Regions from separate parts of the Homo sapiens genome. Here regions 1, 2, 3 and 5 are each linked to region 4. Evidence: promoter capture Hi-C in 16 types of primary human blood cells and fetal thymus (Javierre and others, 2016). All regions are on one chromosome and are shown on one strand. The core of a region is centred on a gene start or on the middle of the fragment in contact, and the rest is flanking DNA. Distances in the headings are between cores, read along the strand shown.

What was found. Contacts are between HindIII fragments. The CHiCAGO score rates a contact against its expected background, and 5 or more counts as called.
Region 1: a fragment that was not itself captured here is called in contact with the fragment with the promoter of FOS in region 4 in 1 of 17 cell types (M2 macrophages); the score reaches 5.1 in M2 macrophages.
Region 2: a fragment that was not itself captured here is called in contact with the fragment with the promoter of FOS in region 4 in 1 of 17 cell types (monocytes); the score reaches 5.5 in monocytes.
Region 3: a contact is called between a fragment that was not itself captured here and the fragment with the promoter of FOS in region 4, in 1 of 17 cell types (activated CD4 T cells). The highest score is 6.5, in activated CD4 T cells.
Region 5: a contact is called between a fragment that was not itself captured here and the fragment with the promoter of FOS in region 4, in 1 of 17 cell types (activated CD4 T cells). The highest score is 11.4, in activated CD4 T cells.

Annotation. Positions count from the first base shown.
Region 1 is chr14:75,591,480-75,594,179 of GRCh38, forward strand. The region is part of intron 1 of FLVCR2 (FLVCR choline and putative heme transporter 2); the gene reads left to right. Among named protein-coding and RNA genes, the nearest start is that of FLVCR2-AS1, 13 kb to the left of the region's middle. The HindIII fragment of the contact is 2,694 bases long and covers 90-2,700 here.
Region 2 is chr14:75,611,059-75,613,758 of GRCh38, forward strand. All of the region lies in intron 1 of FLVCR2 (FLVCR choline and putative heme transporter 2), which reads left to right. It also overlaps the pseudogene RNA5SP387. Among named protein-coding and RNA genes, the nearest start is that of FLVCR2-AS1, 33 kb to the left of the region's middle. The HindIII fragment of the contact is 1,616 bases long and covers 615-2,230 here.
Region 3 is chr14:75,569,914-75,572,613 of GRCh38, forward strand. No RefSeq gene overlaps it. Among named protein-coding and RNA genes, the nearest start is that of FLVCR2, 7.4 kb to the right of the region's middle. The HindIII fragment of the contact is 1,245 bases long and covers 770-2,014 here.
Region 4 is chr14:75,277,522-75,280,221 of GRCh38, forward strand. FOS (Fos proto-oncogene, AP-1 transcription factor subunit) reads left to right here and starts at 1,307. Exons shown (of 4, transcript NM_005252.4): 1 at 1,307-1,602; 2 at 2,356-2,607. The coding sequence starts at 1,462. RefSeq lists silencers at 709-798, 1,149-1,208 and enhancers at 1,297-2,224, 1,579-1,638, 2,225-2,700. The HindIII fragment of the contact is 6,704 bases long and covers 1-2,700 here.
Region 5 is chr14:75,551,548-75,554,247 of GRCh38, forward strand. No RefSeq gene overlaps it. Among named protein-coding and RNA genes, the nearest start is that of FLVCR2, 26 kb to the right of the region's middle. The HindIII fragment of the contact is 4,651 bases long and covers 1-2,700 here.

The sequences.
Region 1 (2,700 bases), core at 187-2,686, 310 kb after region 4:
CACATGGCTGTACTCACAGGTTGGAATCACATGGCTTTGCTGGACATAGCCCACATGGCTGTACTCACAGGTTGGAATCAAATGCCTGAAGCTTAGCCAGGCTGAGGTCACATGCTGCCAGTGACTTTAGCATTTTGGGGTCCTTGCGGTGGCCCTACTCTTGTGGCTCCACTAGGCATTGTCCTAGTGAAGACTCTTTGCAGAAGAGTCCTCTGCTGTGGCCTCACATTTCTGCTTGGCATTGTCTTAGCAGAGGCTGTCTGTGGTGGCTCCCCCACATGGCAGGTTTCTGCCTAGGCTCCCAGGCTCTCTTTTTCTCTTCATTCCTTTTTTTTTTTTTTTTTTTTTTTTTGACAAAGGGTCTTACTCTGTCACCCAGGCTGGAGTGCAGTGGTGTGATCACAGCTCACTGTACCTTGACCTCTGAGGCTCAATCAATCTTCCAGCCTCAGCCTCCCAAGTAGCTGGGACTACAGGCATGCACCACTGCACCTGGTTAATTTTGTTTCTTTTTTGTTTTTGTTTTTGTTTTGTAGAGATGAGGTCTTGCCATTTTGCCCAGGCTGTTCTTGAACTCCTGAACTCAAGTGATCCACCCACCTCATCCTCCTAAAGAGTTGGGATTTCAAGCATGAGCCACTGTGCCTGGCCTGCTCCCAGGCTTGCTGATACATCATCTGAAATCTAGGTGGAAGCTGCCATGCCCACCACTCTTGCATTCCACATGCATGAACAATAGTACCATGTGGACATGGATGCCACCAAGACCCACAGCTTGCACTCTCCAGAGCAGTGGCCCAAGCTGTACCTGGGGCTATTGGGCCATGGCTGCTCTGGCCAGAGCAGCTAGGAGAAGCATCCTGAGGTGGCTCAGGGCAGTGGTATCCCACCATTCTGTCCTCCTAGGCCTCTGGGTCTGTGACAGGAGGAATGGCCTTAGACTTTTGAAATACTTTCAGGGCCTTTTTTCCATTGTTCTGTTAGTACCTGGCTCCCTTCTGTCAGAACTAATCTCTTTAGCAAAAGGTCCCTTGGCTGCACCCTTAGATTCCTCTTCTGAAAATGTTCTTTCATTCTCTACCACTTGGCCAGGCTGCAAATTTTCTAAATTTTAATGCTCTGCTTCTTACACATTTCACCTTTAGGTCACTCCTTTGCTGTGTTTAAGCTGTCAAAGTAACCACACTGTGTCTTGAGCATTTTGCTGCTTAGAAATTTTTCTGCCTAGGCCGGGCATGGTGGCTCATGCCTGTAATCACAGCACTTTGGGAGGCCGAGGTGGGCGGATCACCTGAGGTCAGGAGTTCGAGACTAGCCTGGCCAACATGGTGAAACCCCACCTTTAAAAAGAAAAAAAAAAAGAAATTTCTCCTGCCAGATGCCCTAGGTTATCATTTTTAAGTTTGGTATTTTATAAAGCCCTAAGGCATGGACACAATGCAGCCAAGTTCTTTGCTGTGGCATAACATGGGTGACCTTTGTTCTAGTTTCCAAATAAACGCTACTTTCCTTCATCAGAATGGCCTTTACTGTCCATATTTCTATCAGCATTTTGGTCATAACCATCTAACCAATCTCTGAGAAGTTCCAAACGTTCCCTCATCTTTTTGTCTTTTTCTGAGCCCTCATCAAAATTACTCTTAATGCCCTGTTCACAGCAATTCAGGTGTTTTCTAGCCTATTTCTTCAAACTCCTCCAACTTCTGCCCGTTACCCAGTTCCAAAGCTGCTTCTGCATTTTTAGGTATCTTTATGGCACAACCCCACTCCTTGGTACAAATTGTCTGTCTTAGATCATTTTGTGTTGTTATAACAGAATACCTGAAACTGGGTCATTTATAAAGAAAAGGTGTATTTACCTCACTGTTCTGTAGGCTGGGACATTCAAGGGCGTGCCTGCAGCCTGCAGGGGGTTGTAGCTCTCATGCTACATTATAACATGACAGAGAAGGTTAAAGGGCAAGTGGACACGTGCAAAGAGGCAAACCCAAGGGATCTCTTGGCTTTAAAACAACCCACTATCATGGGAACTCACCCATTTCTGCAGGAACTAATCTAGTCTTGCGAGAGTGAGAATCTGCTTCCATGAGATCAGCTGGTGGAGGATCCTCCCCCATGATCCAAATGCCTCCCACTAAGCCTCACCTCCCAACACCACCCCATTGGGGATAAAATTTCAACATAAGTTTAAGAGGGGACAAACTCAGATCATATCCGAACCATAGCACTTGTCCTCAAGGCCCCAGCCTGCTTAGACAATCTCTGAAATGTCTTCAGGGTTTTTCTCTCATTGTCTTGATGAATAGGCCTGGTTGCCTTCTGTCTACTAATTTTTTTAGCAAATGATTTCTTGGCCACGCCCTTGGTTTTTCTCCTACGGACACTTTTTCAGTCTACATGGCCAGCCTTCAGATTTCCCAAATCTTTCTGCTCTGCTTTCTTTTTCATTACTAATTCCACCTTTTAGTCATTTCTCTCCTCTCATGTTTTACTATATGTGCTTCAAAGTAGCAATACAGCTCCTTCAATATTTTGCTTAGAAATTTCTTTCACCAGATATCCTAGTTCATCACTCTTAAGTTCTGTCTTCCACAAATTCCTAAGACACTGACAGAATTCTGCCAAGTTCTTTGCAAGTAGATAACAAGAATGGCTTTTACTCCAGTTTCCAATACCTTGTTCCTCATTTCCATCTGACAC
Region 2 (2,700 bases), core at 173-2,672, 330 kb after region 4:
AATGTGAGTCAATGTCCCTGTCCTCAAGGTACTAACAGTTTAGTTTGGGAGACAACACACTACACAAAAAGAAACAAAACTAAGCATGACATAAAAACAAGAAACCTGTAAAGTGTAACTGTGGCAAAGAAACCAAACTGTAGCTGGAGACACCTCTCACCCTTGCTTCCTCCGACAGCTACACATTTGGGGACATTTGAACTACAGAATGGAGCATATGAGACTGGAGGGAGTGTCGGGTGTGAGGGCAGTCACTTTTCTGTGGCATTCACCTTGTCCGTTGAGGGCTTTGGAATCAGATAGCCAAGGGTATGAATCTCAGTTTTGCCAGGAGAAGCTGTTTTGACCTTGGGCAAATTATAGAGGCTTTCTCATCTGTAAAAACCAAACCAGAGGCCAAGGCACAGTGGCTCATGCCTGTAATCCCAGCGCTTTGGGAGGCCGAGGCAGGTGAATTGCTTGAGCCCAGGAGTTCGAGACCAACCTGGGCAACATGGTGAAACCCCGTCTCTCCTAAAAATACAAAAAATTAGCCAGGTGTGTTGGGCGCATGTCTGTGGTCGCAGCTACTTGGGAGGCCGAGGTGAGAGGATTGCTTGAGCCAGGGAAGTAGAAGCTTCAGTGAGCCGAGATCGCACCACTGCACTAGCCTGGGCAACAGAGTGAGACCCTGTCTCACAAACAAACAAACAAACAAACAAAAAAACCCACAAACAAAACCCAAACCAGAGATGATGGTGCCAACTTCAGGGGGTAGTTGTGAGGGCATAGATGAAATATCATGTGAAAAAGCCTTTAGCATGCTGTCTAACACATAGCAGACACTCAGTACATATTCACCTCCTTCCTCCTGGTTTGAGTAACATTTAAGACCAGCGCCTTTAACCTAATGGATAAGAGTACAGATGAGTACTGATGGCCAGAGCTTGAAGTTTAGCCTCATCGCTTACTGTTATGTGACCTTGGGCAAGCTACTTAAATGCCAATTTCCTCCACTTTAAAATAGACATTAGGGGAGCACGCCTTCTATTTTATGGAGTGAAGTGTTGCCCCCCAAAAGAAAAAAATTAATAATTAAAAAATAAAATGATTCAAAGAGTATATATATTTATAGGGTGCTTTGAGCACAGTGTATCAGCTCTCATCGCTATTATTATCTTCCCTAGGGATCAATGATTGTAGGCTATCCTAATTTCAGTAGCTGCTGCTTCCTGCATTTCTCTAACCTCTTTCACCCAAAGAACTGAGGGAATCCAGGAGTCAGGGCAGTAAAAGCCACCAGCATAATCACAGCTTTCAGGACAAACCCTGTGACGGGGGCGGGAGCTTGAAGGAAGTCTGGAGTTGGCCAGCTGTAACCCTACTCCCTAAGTTCTTAGAGATCTTAGCTTAGCCTTTAAATCCATAAACCCCCTTCCTGAGTGATTTTCCACCAAATCAATGAGGTTGTTTAGATTGTCTTTGTCTTTGAAGGCCTGCTACCTCCTTGATCCCGAGTTGACCTTTTCAAAAGAAGCCTTGGATTTGGAGATTTCACAAATAACAGTCATATGAGCGGTCTTTGCCTGGACATTATCGGTTACCGTGGAGCCGCCTGGCATTCCTGGGTGCTCGGGGCTCATTCTCATGATTAAGCTCAAGCTCTGGGTTCTTAGTTTTGCAGTGTCTCTCAGCCCCAGCAGCCACCTTGGACTCTCCTTGCTTCTTTCTGGGGCATCCGCAGACTCAGTCCCAAGACCCCCTGCCAAACCTCGACTACATGTCCCAAGGTAGCTTGCCTGGCAGAGTGCCTTCACTCTAGCCTGGTCTCCTCCACTTGAGGTCTTGGAGCCCTTGTTTATTCTCCATGTTGCTAGATCAGTTATTCACTAGCAGGTATAAGCAAACATCTAAATGATGCTGGCCAAGGGGTAGAGAGCAGTATTTATAGCAACAGAATTATGGACTGGAGTGTGCAGACTTGCCTAAATAGTACCAACTTTGTGGTGTTTCAATGCACACAGCACTGTGTGGGCATGGGCAATGAGTGTGGAAGTCACTTCCACATAATTCCCCAGGTGGACATGGTCCTGGGAGATGGAGCTTGTGTTAGTCCATTTTGGATTGCTATAAAGGAATATCTGAGGCTGGGTGATATATAAAGAAAAGAGGTTTAATTGGCTCATGGTTCTGCAGGCTGTACAGGAAGCATGGTGCCAGCATCTGCTTGACTTCTGGCGGGGCCTTAGGAAGCTTCCAATCATGGTGAAAGGCAATGATGGAGCTAGGGTGTCACATGGCAAGAGTAGGAGCAAGAGAGAGTGAGGGGGAAGATGCCACACAGGTTTAAACAACCAGATCTTAGGAGAATTCATTATTGCAAGGAGAGCACCAAGGGAATGATGATGGCACTAAACCATTCATGAGAAATCTGCCCCCCTGACCCAATCACCTCCCACCAGGCCCCACCTCCGACACTGGAGATTACAATTCAACATGAGATTTCTTTTTCTTTTTCTTTTTTCTTTTTTTGAGATGGAGTCTTGCTCTGTTGCCCAGGCTGGAGTGCAGTGGCACATCTTGGCCCACTGCAACCTCTGCCTCCCGGGTTCAAGCGATTCTCCTGCCTCAGCCTCTCGAGTAGCTGGGATTACAGGTGCACATCACCATGCCCAGCTAATTTTTGTATTTTTAGTAGAGATAGGGTTTCACCAGGTTGGC
Region 3 (2,700 bases), core at 142-2,641, 290 kb after region 4:
CTGGCTGCTGCCTCTCTCTCCAACCACGTTGGCTTTGCTTCTCACCCTCACTCTGCTCCAGCCTCATTGGCTTTGTGGCTTAAAAGGGCCCTGCTCCCTCCTGGTTCAGGGCCTTGCACATTCTGTTCCCTCTTCCTGGAAAGCCCTTCCCCCCTCTTTCACCAAGTTAAGTCTCACTTTTATTTTATTTTTATTTTTATTTTTTGAGATGGAGTCACTCTGTCACCCAGGCTGGAGTGCAGTGGCATGCTCTTGGCTCACTGCAACCTCTGCCTCCCAGGTTCAAGCGATCCTCCTGCCTCAGCCTCCAAAGTAGCTGGGACTACAGGCACCTGCCACCATGCATGGCTAATTTTTTTTGTATTTTTAGTAGAGACCGAGTTTCACCATGTTGGCCAGGCTGGTCTCGAACTCCTGGCCTCAGGTGATCCAGCCCCCTCAGTCTCCCAAAGTCCTGGGATTACAAGCATGAGCCATAAGTCTAACTTTTTAAAAACGTATTGCTTAAGATCCCACTCATCTGTTCCATCTATATAAATTCTTACAAATAACCCTCATAGCACTTATAATTTTACTTATGTGTGTATGTAAGTGTTTGATTGATGTTTGTCCTCTCAAGGACACTGTAAGCTCCATGAAGGTAGGGAGGGACCACGTTTGTTTTGCTCACTCCTAGGATCTTCAGCACCTGCCACAGGGCCTGGCTAAGTCTCATCTATCCCTCAAGATCCCGACCTAGCATCTCTCTGAGAAGCCCCCCTTGACTCTAAGCTTTGGGAGTCCCATGAACCAGCATGGACCACACATTTATTGTACCACCTGGCAATGATCTGCTCACATAACTGTCTCACCACTACTTTGTGGATTCTTGGAGGGCAAGAGCCTCATCTTTGTTGAATTTGTTTCCTTTACACCCAGCACAGTGCCTGGCCTGCAGGAGATCAATGGTGGGTAAATGAATGACTCTGTTAAGACAGTCCCCTGGGCCCAGGTATTATACCCTGTACATCAAGGGGCTGGCTGAGATGACTTTGTGTGTCCTTTCTCTGTCACTGTGGCTCCAGCATTGCATAACCCTGCCCAGCCAGCACCCCTCTGCTTTGTCATGCCATGTGCCTTTAACTGTTGCCCTGGCAATCAACAAATCTTGCTGCTACCCCCGTTTCTCTATTCCATTATGAAAAGGGAGCCTCACACCTCCGGGCTTTCTATAGATTATGCAAAAAGACAAGCCATTTTAATGTCTCCTTCCTCTTTGACTCATGTTTTTTAGTTAGCTCTTTCTCATATTTATGGGGCAACTTTTTTTTTTGGTTTTCTAATTATTAAGAAGCATTTAAAATATAGAACAGGTATGAAGAATAACACAGTGGCCACCCATGATCACACCCAAGGACATGCAGCTGAGGATACAAAATGTGACCCACGTACAGGGACCTTGTCTTTAGAGGAGGATTGATACCATCTGAGGCCTTTCCAGATGTACTCATGTACTTCCAGGGAACTGAAATGTCTATTTCAAACCATGTGTCCCGGGCAGAGCCCAGCATCTACATGTCCAGCTAGGAGGCCTTTCTTCTAGACTCTCGTCTGAGAAAAATGGATCTTCTTCTTCTCTGAATCCTCAGCAGCCCCTGAGCACATTCCCTTCTAGGACAGACTTGGAGACTCTGAGCTGGGAGGGCCCTGGAGGAGAAGAAATCTAGACTCCCCCATGGCACAGGAATGCCCTCCCAACTTTCCCACCCATGGGCTCTGTGAGGTGTGGCAGTGGGGCCCAAACACCACAGGGGACACATTCCAGAAAAGAGAAAGGAAGACACAATCAACCAAGGAGATATGAGCATCCGGAACAAGCTGGACATGTTTTTATTTCTTGTGAGGCCACCTAGAAATAGGACTCATCTAGGAAATGCATCCAAAAAGTCAATGCAGTCAGGCCTTCATTTTCCTTCTGCGGGCCAGACGCGACACTAGAGGTTGGGATTTGAAGATGAATAGGCCATCATTTCTAAGCTTGAGGAGCGCACACTGAGTCGTTAACTTGAAGAAGTAAACAAACATTTATGAAACTGTGTGACAGGAGCTACCACAAAGCTGCACATGCAGGGATGGAAAGAAATCTCTGAGTCACACTTAGGGCATGGGGGAAGGCTTCCTGGAGGAGGGGACGCTTGCCCTGCATTGTGAAGCACGCTTATGGGGAGCTGCAGGTGGCTCCACCTGTCTGGAGCAAAAGGTGGGGAGTGGACAGTGGTGGGAGATGTGGCCAGAACAACATCACAAAGACCTTGTGTGCAGAGCTGAGGAGTGCTTGCCTCTAGTGGCAGATTCCTGGTTTCCTCAGCCTTAACCTCTCACCCTCTCTAGGTTTCCTTCCTTGTTTTGGTGGCCACTGGAGGGTTCAAGGCAGGGAGTGACCTGAAGAGAACTGGAAAATCCTGTGAGGCGACATCCGGCTGAACTGGAAGGAGCGAGAACAACGAGGAGGCAGCCGTGGGTTGGAGGTGAGAAGCCAGGAGAGGCTGCAGCAGGGTGGTGGCAGTGAGAAAGGACAGGAGGGAAGACTGTAAGGAAAGAAGCATCTGTGACACTGAGAGTGAGTGAAGGGGGATCTGGGGAATCCTTAGTCTTCAGGCTTGGCTCACTGGGAGCTAGTGGTGCGCTTTGTCGACAGAGAGAACTCCAGAGAAGTAGACC
Region 4 (2,700 bases), core at 57-2,556:
GGGCAGGAGATTGGGGGGCGTGGCACACTCTGGAGCACCTTGCCTCCCCAAAGCCCCGTGTTCCAGGACGTGGAGCCGCTCCTGGGGTCCCAGCAGTCGAGGTATTCCGCCCAGGCGCAGCTGGACACTGTCCTTCCAGCCCCCGTCCTCCACCCTCCAAGTCCGCGCTGGAAAATCACCCGCTGCGGGCTCCCGTAAGCACAGCTTCCTGGCGGGACCGAACCAGCCCTCAGCGCAGATTTGAGTTCCCCGCAGGAAGCACACCCCGCCTTGTCATCCCGAACTGACCACCCTGCCCACATAACCACACCTCGCACTCCCTACCCCTGGGGCCCAGCTCAGAACCGGGCAGACACCCCCTTCAAATGTCTTCGCACGTAGGTTTTGCACAGTGTTTATCTGCTGGTGTCTCAGGGATTTGACAGTTTCCTTAATATTCCCACACATGGCCGAGAAAAATAAATAAATAAATGCGCTGTCTTCTTTAAAAAAATAAATAAATAAAGTACCCAGTATCGTAAAGTAGGTTATCGTATTCTCTTATTTTGGATCCTCCACTTTCTGCTTCCAAACGCAGGAACAGTGCTAGTATTGCTCGAGCCCGAGGGCTGGAGGTTAGGGGATGAAGGTCTGCTTCCACGCTTTGCACTGAATTAGGGCTAGAATTGGGGATGGGGGTAGGGGCGCATTCCTTCGGGAGCCGAGGCTTAAGTCCTCGGGGTCCTGTACTCGATGCCGTTTCTCCTATCTCTGAGCCTCAGAACTGTCTTCAGTTTCCGTACAAGGGTAAAAAGGCGCTCTCTGCCCCATCCCCCCCGACCTCGGGAACAAGGGTCCGCATTGAACCAGGTGCGAATGTTCTCTCTCATTCTGCGCCGTTCCCGCCTCCCCTCCCCCAGCCGCGGCCCCCGCCTCCCCCCGCACTGCACCCTCGGTGTTGGCTGCAGCCCGCGAGCAGTTCCCGTCAATCCCTCCCCCCTTACACAGGATGTCCATATTAGGACATCTGCGTCAGCAGGTTTCCACGGCCTTTCCCTGTAGCCCTGGGGGGAGCCATCCCCGAAACCCCTCATCTTGGGGGGCCCACGAGACCTCTGAGACAGGAACTGCGAAATGCTCACGAGATTAGGACACGCGCCAAGGCGGGGGCAGGGAGCTGCGAGCGCTGGGGACGCAGCCGGGCGGCCGCAGAAGCGCCCAGGCCCGCGCGCCACCCCTCTGGCGCCACCGTGGTTGAGCCCGTGACGTTTACACTCATTCATAAAACGCTTGTTATAAAAGCAGTGGCTGCGGCGCCTCGTACTCCAACCGCATCTGCAGCGAGCATCTGAGAAGCCAAGACTGAGCCGGCGGCCGCGGCGCAGCGAACGAGCAGTGACCGTGCTCCTACCCAGCTCTGCTCCACAGCGCCCACCTGTCTCCGCCCCTCGGCCCCTCGCCCGGCTTTGCCTAACCGCCACGATGATGTTCTCGGGCTTCAACGCAGACTACGAGGCGTCATCCTCCCGCTGCAGCAGCGCGTCCCCGGCCGGGGATAGCCTCTCTTACTACCACTCACCCGCAGACTCCTTCTCCAGCATGGGCTCGCCTGTCAACGCGCAGGTAAGGCTGGCTTCCCGTCGCCGCGGGGCCGGGGGCTTGGGGTCGCGGAGGAGGAGACACCGGGCGGGACGCTCCAGTAGATGAGTAGGGGGCTCCCTTGTGCCTGGAGGGAGGCTGCCGTGGCCGGAGCGGTGCCGGCTCGGGGGCTCGGGACTTGCTCTGAGCGCACGCACGCTTGCCATAGTAAGAATTGGTTCCCCCTTCGGGAGGCAGGTTCGTTCTGAGCAACCTCTGGTCTGCACTCCAGGACGGATCTCTGACATTAGCTGGAGCAGACGTGTCCCAAGCACAAACTCGCTAACTAGAGCCTGGCTTCTCCGGGGAGGTGGCAGAAAGCGGCAATCCCCCCTCCCCCGGCAGCCTGGAGCACGGAGGAGGGATGAGGGAGGAGGGTGCAGCGGGCGGGTGTGTAAGGCAGTTTCATTGATAAAAAGCGAGTTCATTCTGGAGACTCCGGAGCGGCGCCTGCGTCAGCGCAGACGTCAGGGATATTTATAACAAACCCCCTTTCAAGCAAGTGATGCTGAAGGGATAACGGGAACGCAGCGGCAGGATGGAAGAGACAGGCACTGCGCTGCGGAATGCCTGGGAGGAAAAGGGGGAGACCTTTCATCCAGGATGAGGGACATTTAAGATGAAATGTCCGTGGCAGGATCGTTTCTCTTCACTGCTGCATGCGGCACTGGGAACTCGCCCCACCTGTGTCCGGAACCTGCTCGCTCACGTCGGCTTTCCCCTTCTGTTTTGTTCTAGGACTTCTGCACGGACCTGGCCGTCTCCAGTGCCAACTTCATTCCCACGGTCACTGCCATCTCGACCAGTCCGGACCTGCAGTGGCTGGTGCAGCCCGCCCTCGTCTCCTCCGTGGCCCCATCGCAGACCAGAGCCCCTCACCCTTTCGGAGTCCCCGCCCCCTCCGCTGGGGCTTACTCCAGGGCTGGCGTTGTGAAGACCATGACAGGAGGCCGAGCGCAGAGCATTGGCAGGAGGGGCAAGGTGGAACAGGTGAGGAACTCTAGCGTACTCTTCCTGGGAATGTGGGGGCTGGGTGGGAAGCAGCCCCGGAGATGCAGGAGCCCAGTACAGAGGATGAAGCCA
Region 5 (2,700 bases), core at 10-2,509, 270 kb after region 4:
TGCTTGGGAATTCCAAGGGGGAGAAAGGGCTAGTGAACTAAGATCAACACCAACGTAGTAAAGATTTAATACTCGTTTCTGCCAGAGGAGACTGTCATTTTAAGAGACACCTAGGAGCTCAAGGCTATAGTGAGCTATGATTGCATCACTGCACTCCAACCTGGGCAACAAAGCGAGATGCAAAACCCTGTCTCTAAAACAAAAAAGAGAGATGCCTAGAGAAAGTAACACTTGACCCAAAGGAAAGAGTTTTTATGGTAGCATTTTAGGCTTTGTAGCAAGTGAGCAGAGGAGATATTTAATGGAATTCTTGCCATGGGAATGACATGTGACTGCATTGGCCTCATGTAGATACCAGAGGAGTGGGAGATGGGGATGGGAGGGAAAGAGAGATGTAGCCCTTCTAAAACTCTTGTGGGTTTGTGTGTGTGTGTGTGTTTTTTTTTTTTGACTGAGTCCCACTCTGTTGCCCAAGCTGGAGTGCAGTGGTGCGATCTCGGCTCACTGCAACCTCCACCGCCCGGATTCAAGCAATTCTCCTGTCTCAGCCTCCTGAGTTGCTGGGATTACAAGCATGCGCCACCACGCCCAGATAATTTTTTTTTTTTTTTTTTTTTTTTTTTTTTGTGGAGATGGTGTTTCACCATATTGGTTAGGCTGGTCTTGAAAAATCTTGTTTTTTAACCACCTGATATGTGATTTAATTTAATCACTTATAGGAAGATAAAATAAAAACCTGATCCTGGTTTGAACAATCTACTGGTAGGTAGAGATGAAGAGCCCCCTTTTAGAGGACTTCAATAGGAAAATTTGCACAAATACCTTTGCTACCCAGGAGGTTTCTTTGGCTTCCTCTGGAAGATTCCTGTAGACAGATTGCTGAGTTTGTCATTACACCTAGAAACCAAGGCTAGGAGGGGTAGCTGAGACTGATAATTGCCCTCCCAAAGCTATTCTTCCATTTTTCCTTACTACGGAACTCTTGTTTTGTCTAAGATGGCAATATGCCTAGAGAAAAGATTACATATCCCAGATTCCTTTGATGTTTGGGATGGCCATATGGCACAGTTCTGGCCAAAGAGATATGCAAGAATTTGCTAGGTAAGACTTTTATGGGAAAGCTCTTCAAAAGGTGGGGCTGTCTCAGTTGGCACATGCCTTTCTCCTCCTTTCTGTCTGGAAGGCAGATATGGTGTTAGAGGTGAAGCAACCGTGTACACAAAGGAGGAAGAGATTCTGCGTCCCTGGTAATACTGCAGAAGTGTGAAGATGATAGAAGCTCCAGCTGGCCCACTTCTAGACGGCTTCTAAGTGAAAGTGGAAAAGAGTTTATTTGGTTACATCACCTTGAGTTGGGTTTTCTAAGTGCAGCTTAACTCAATTCTGTCTAATGCAGGAGCCAATGGAACAACCAAATAAGGAATTTAAACAATTCCCCTAGCTCAGTGGTTCCTAACTGGGGGTGATCCTCCCCATTCCCCAAGATATTTGACAATGTCTGGAGATATTTTTAGTTGTTACAGCTTGGGAGAGAGGTACTAGTAACATCTAGTGGGAAGAGGCCAGAAATGTTGTTGCTAAGCATGCTGCAATGCACAGGGCACACCCCACAAACAATAATCCAGCTCAAAACATCAGTAGTACAGAGGTGGAGCACCCCTGCAGCTGGCCCTACTGCTTCTAGGGCACCAGCCCATCAGGCCACCAACCTACCCTGACACGCTTGTCCATCCCTTTCTCAGAAACAAACCCTGTGTATTGACCAGGCTGAAAAAGCCACGTCCTTCACCGTATCTGGCACTTTCCTCTCTCTAAGCCTTTGCTCATGCATCATTTCCTCTGCCTAGAATCTCCCTCTCATCTTCTCAGGTGGGGACCATGACTCTTCATTTTTTTTTTTTTTTTTTTTTTGAGATGGAGTCTTGCTCTTGTCACCCAGGCTGGAGTGCCGTGACGCAATCTTGGCTCTCGGCTCACTGCAACCTACACTTCACAGGTTCAAGTAATTCTCCTGCCTCAGTCTCCTGAGTAGTTGGGACTACAGGTGTCTGCCACCACACCCAGCTTTGCTTTGTGTTGGGAACATTCAAAATCCTCTCTTCTAGCTATTTGAAAACATACAATAAGTTATTGTTAACTGTAGTCACCCATCAGTGCTAAGACACTAGGACTTATTCCTCTCATTTAGCTGTAATTTGGTATTCTTTAACCATCCTCTCATTATGTCGTCCTCATCTCTGCCCTGCCTTTCCAGCCTCTAGTAACCACTATTCCACACTTTACTTCTATGAGTTCAACTTCTTTAGCTTCTGCATGTGAGTGAGAACATGTGGTGTTTATCTTTCTGTGTCTGGCTTATTTCACTTAACATAATGTCCTCCAGGCTCATCTATGTTGCTGCAAATGACAGGATTTCATTCTTTTTTATGGCTAAATAATATCGCATTGTGTATATGTACCACATTTTATCTGTTCATCTGTTGGTGGATGCTTGGGTTGATTCCATATAGTACTTTGCATTGTTGCTTTTTAATGTGCATAGAAGATAAGGAATACAGGAGTAAAAGAGTTTGGAGGCAAAAACTCAAACTGTGTTTTTCCTCTGCTCTCACACCACTCTGCAATCAACACAGATGACTTCTGTGACCAAATGTGGGGAGTTTTCCCCATACACCGAGCAAGCAATCAGTTCTGCAGCAG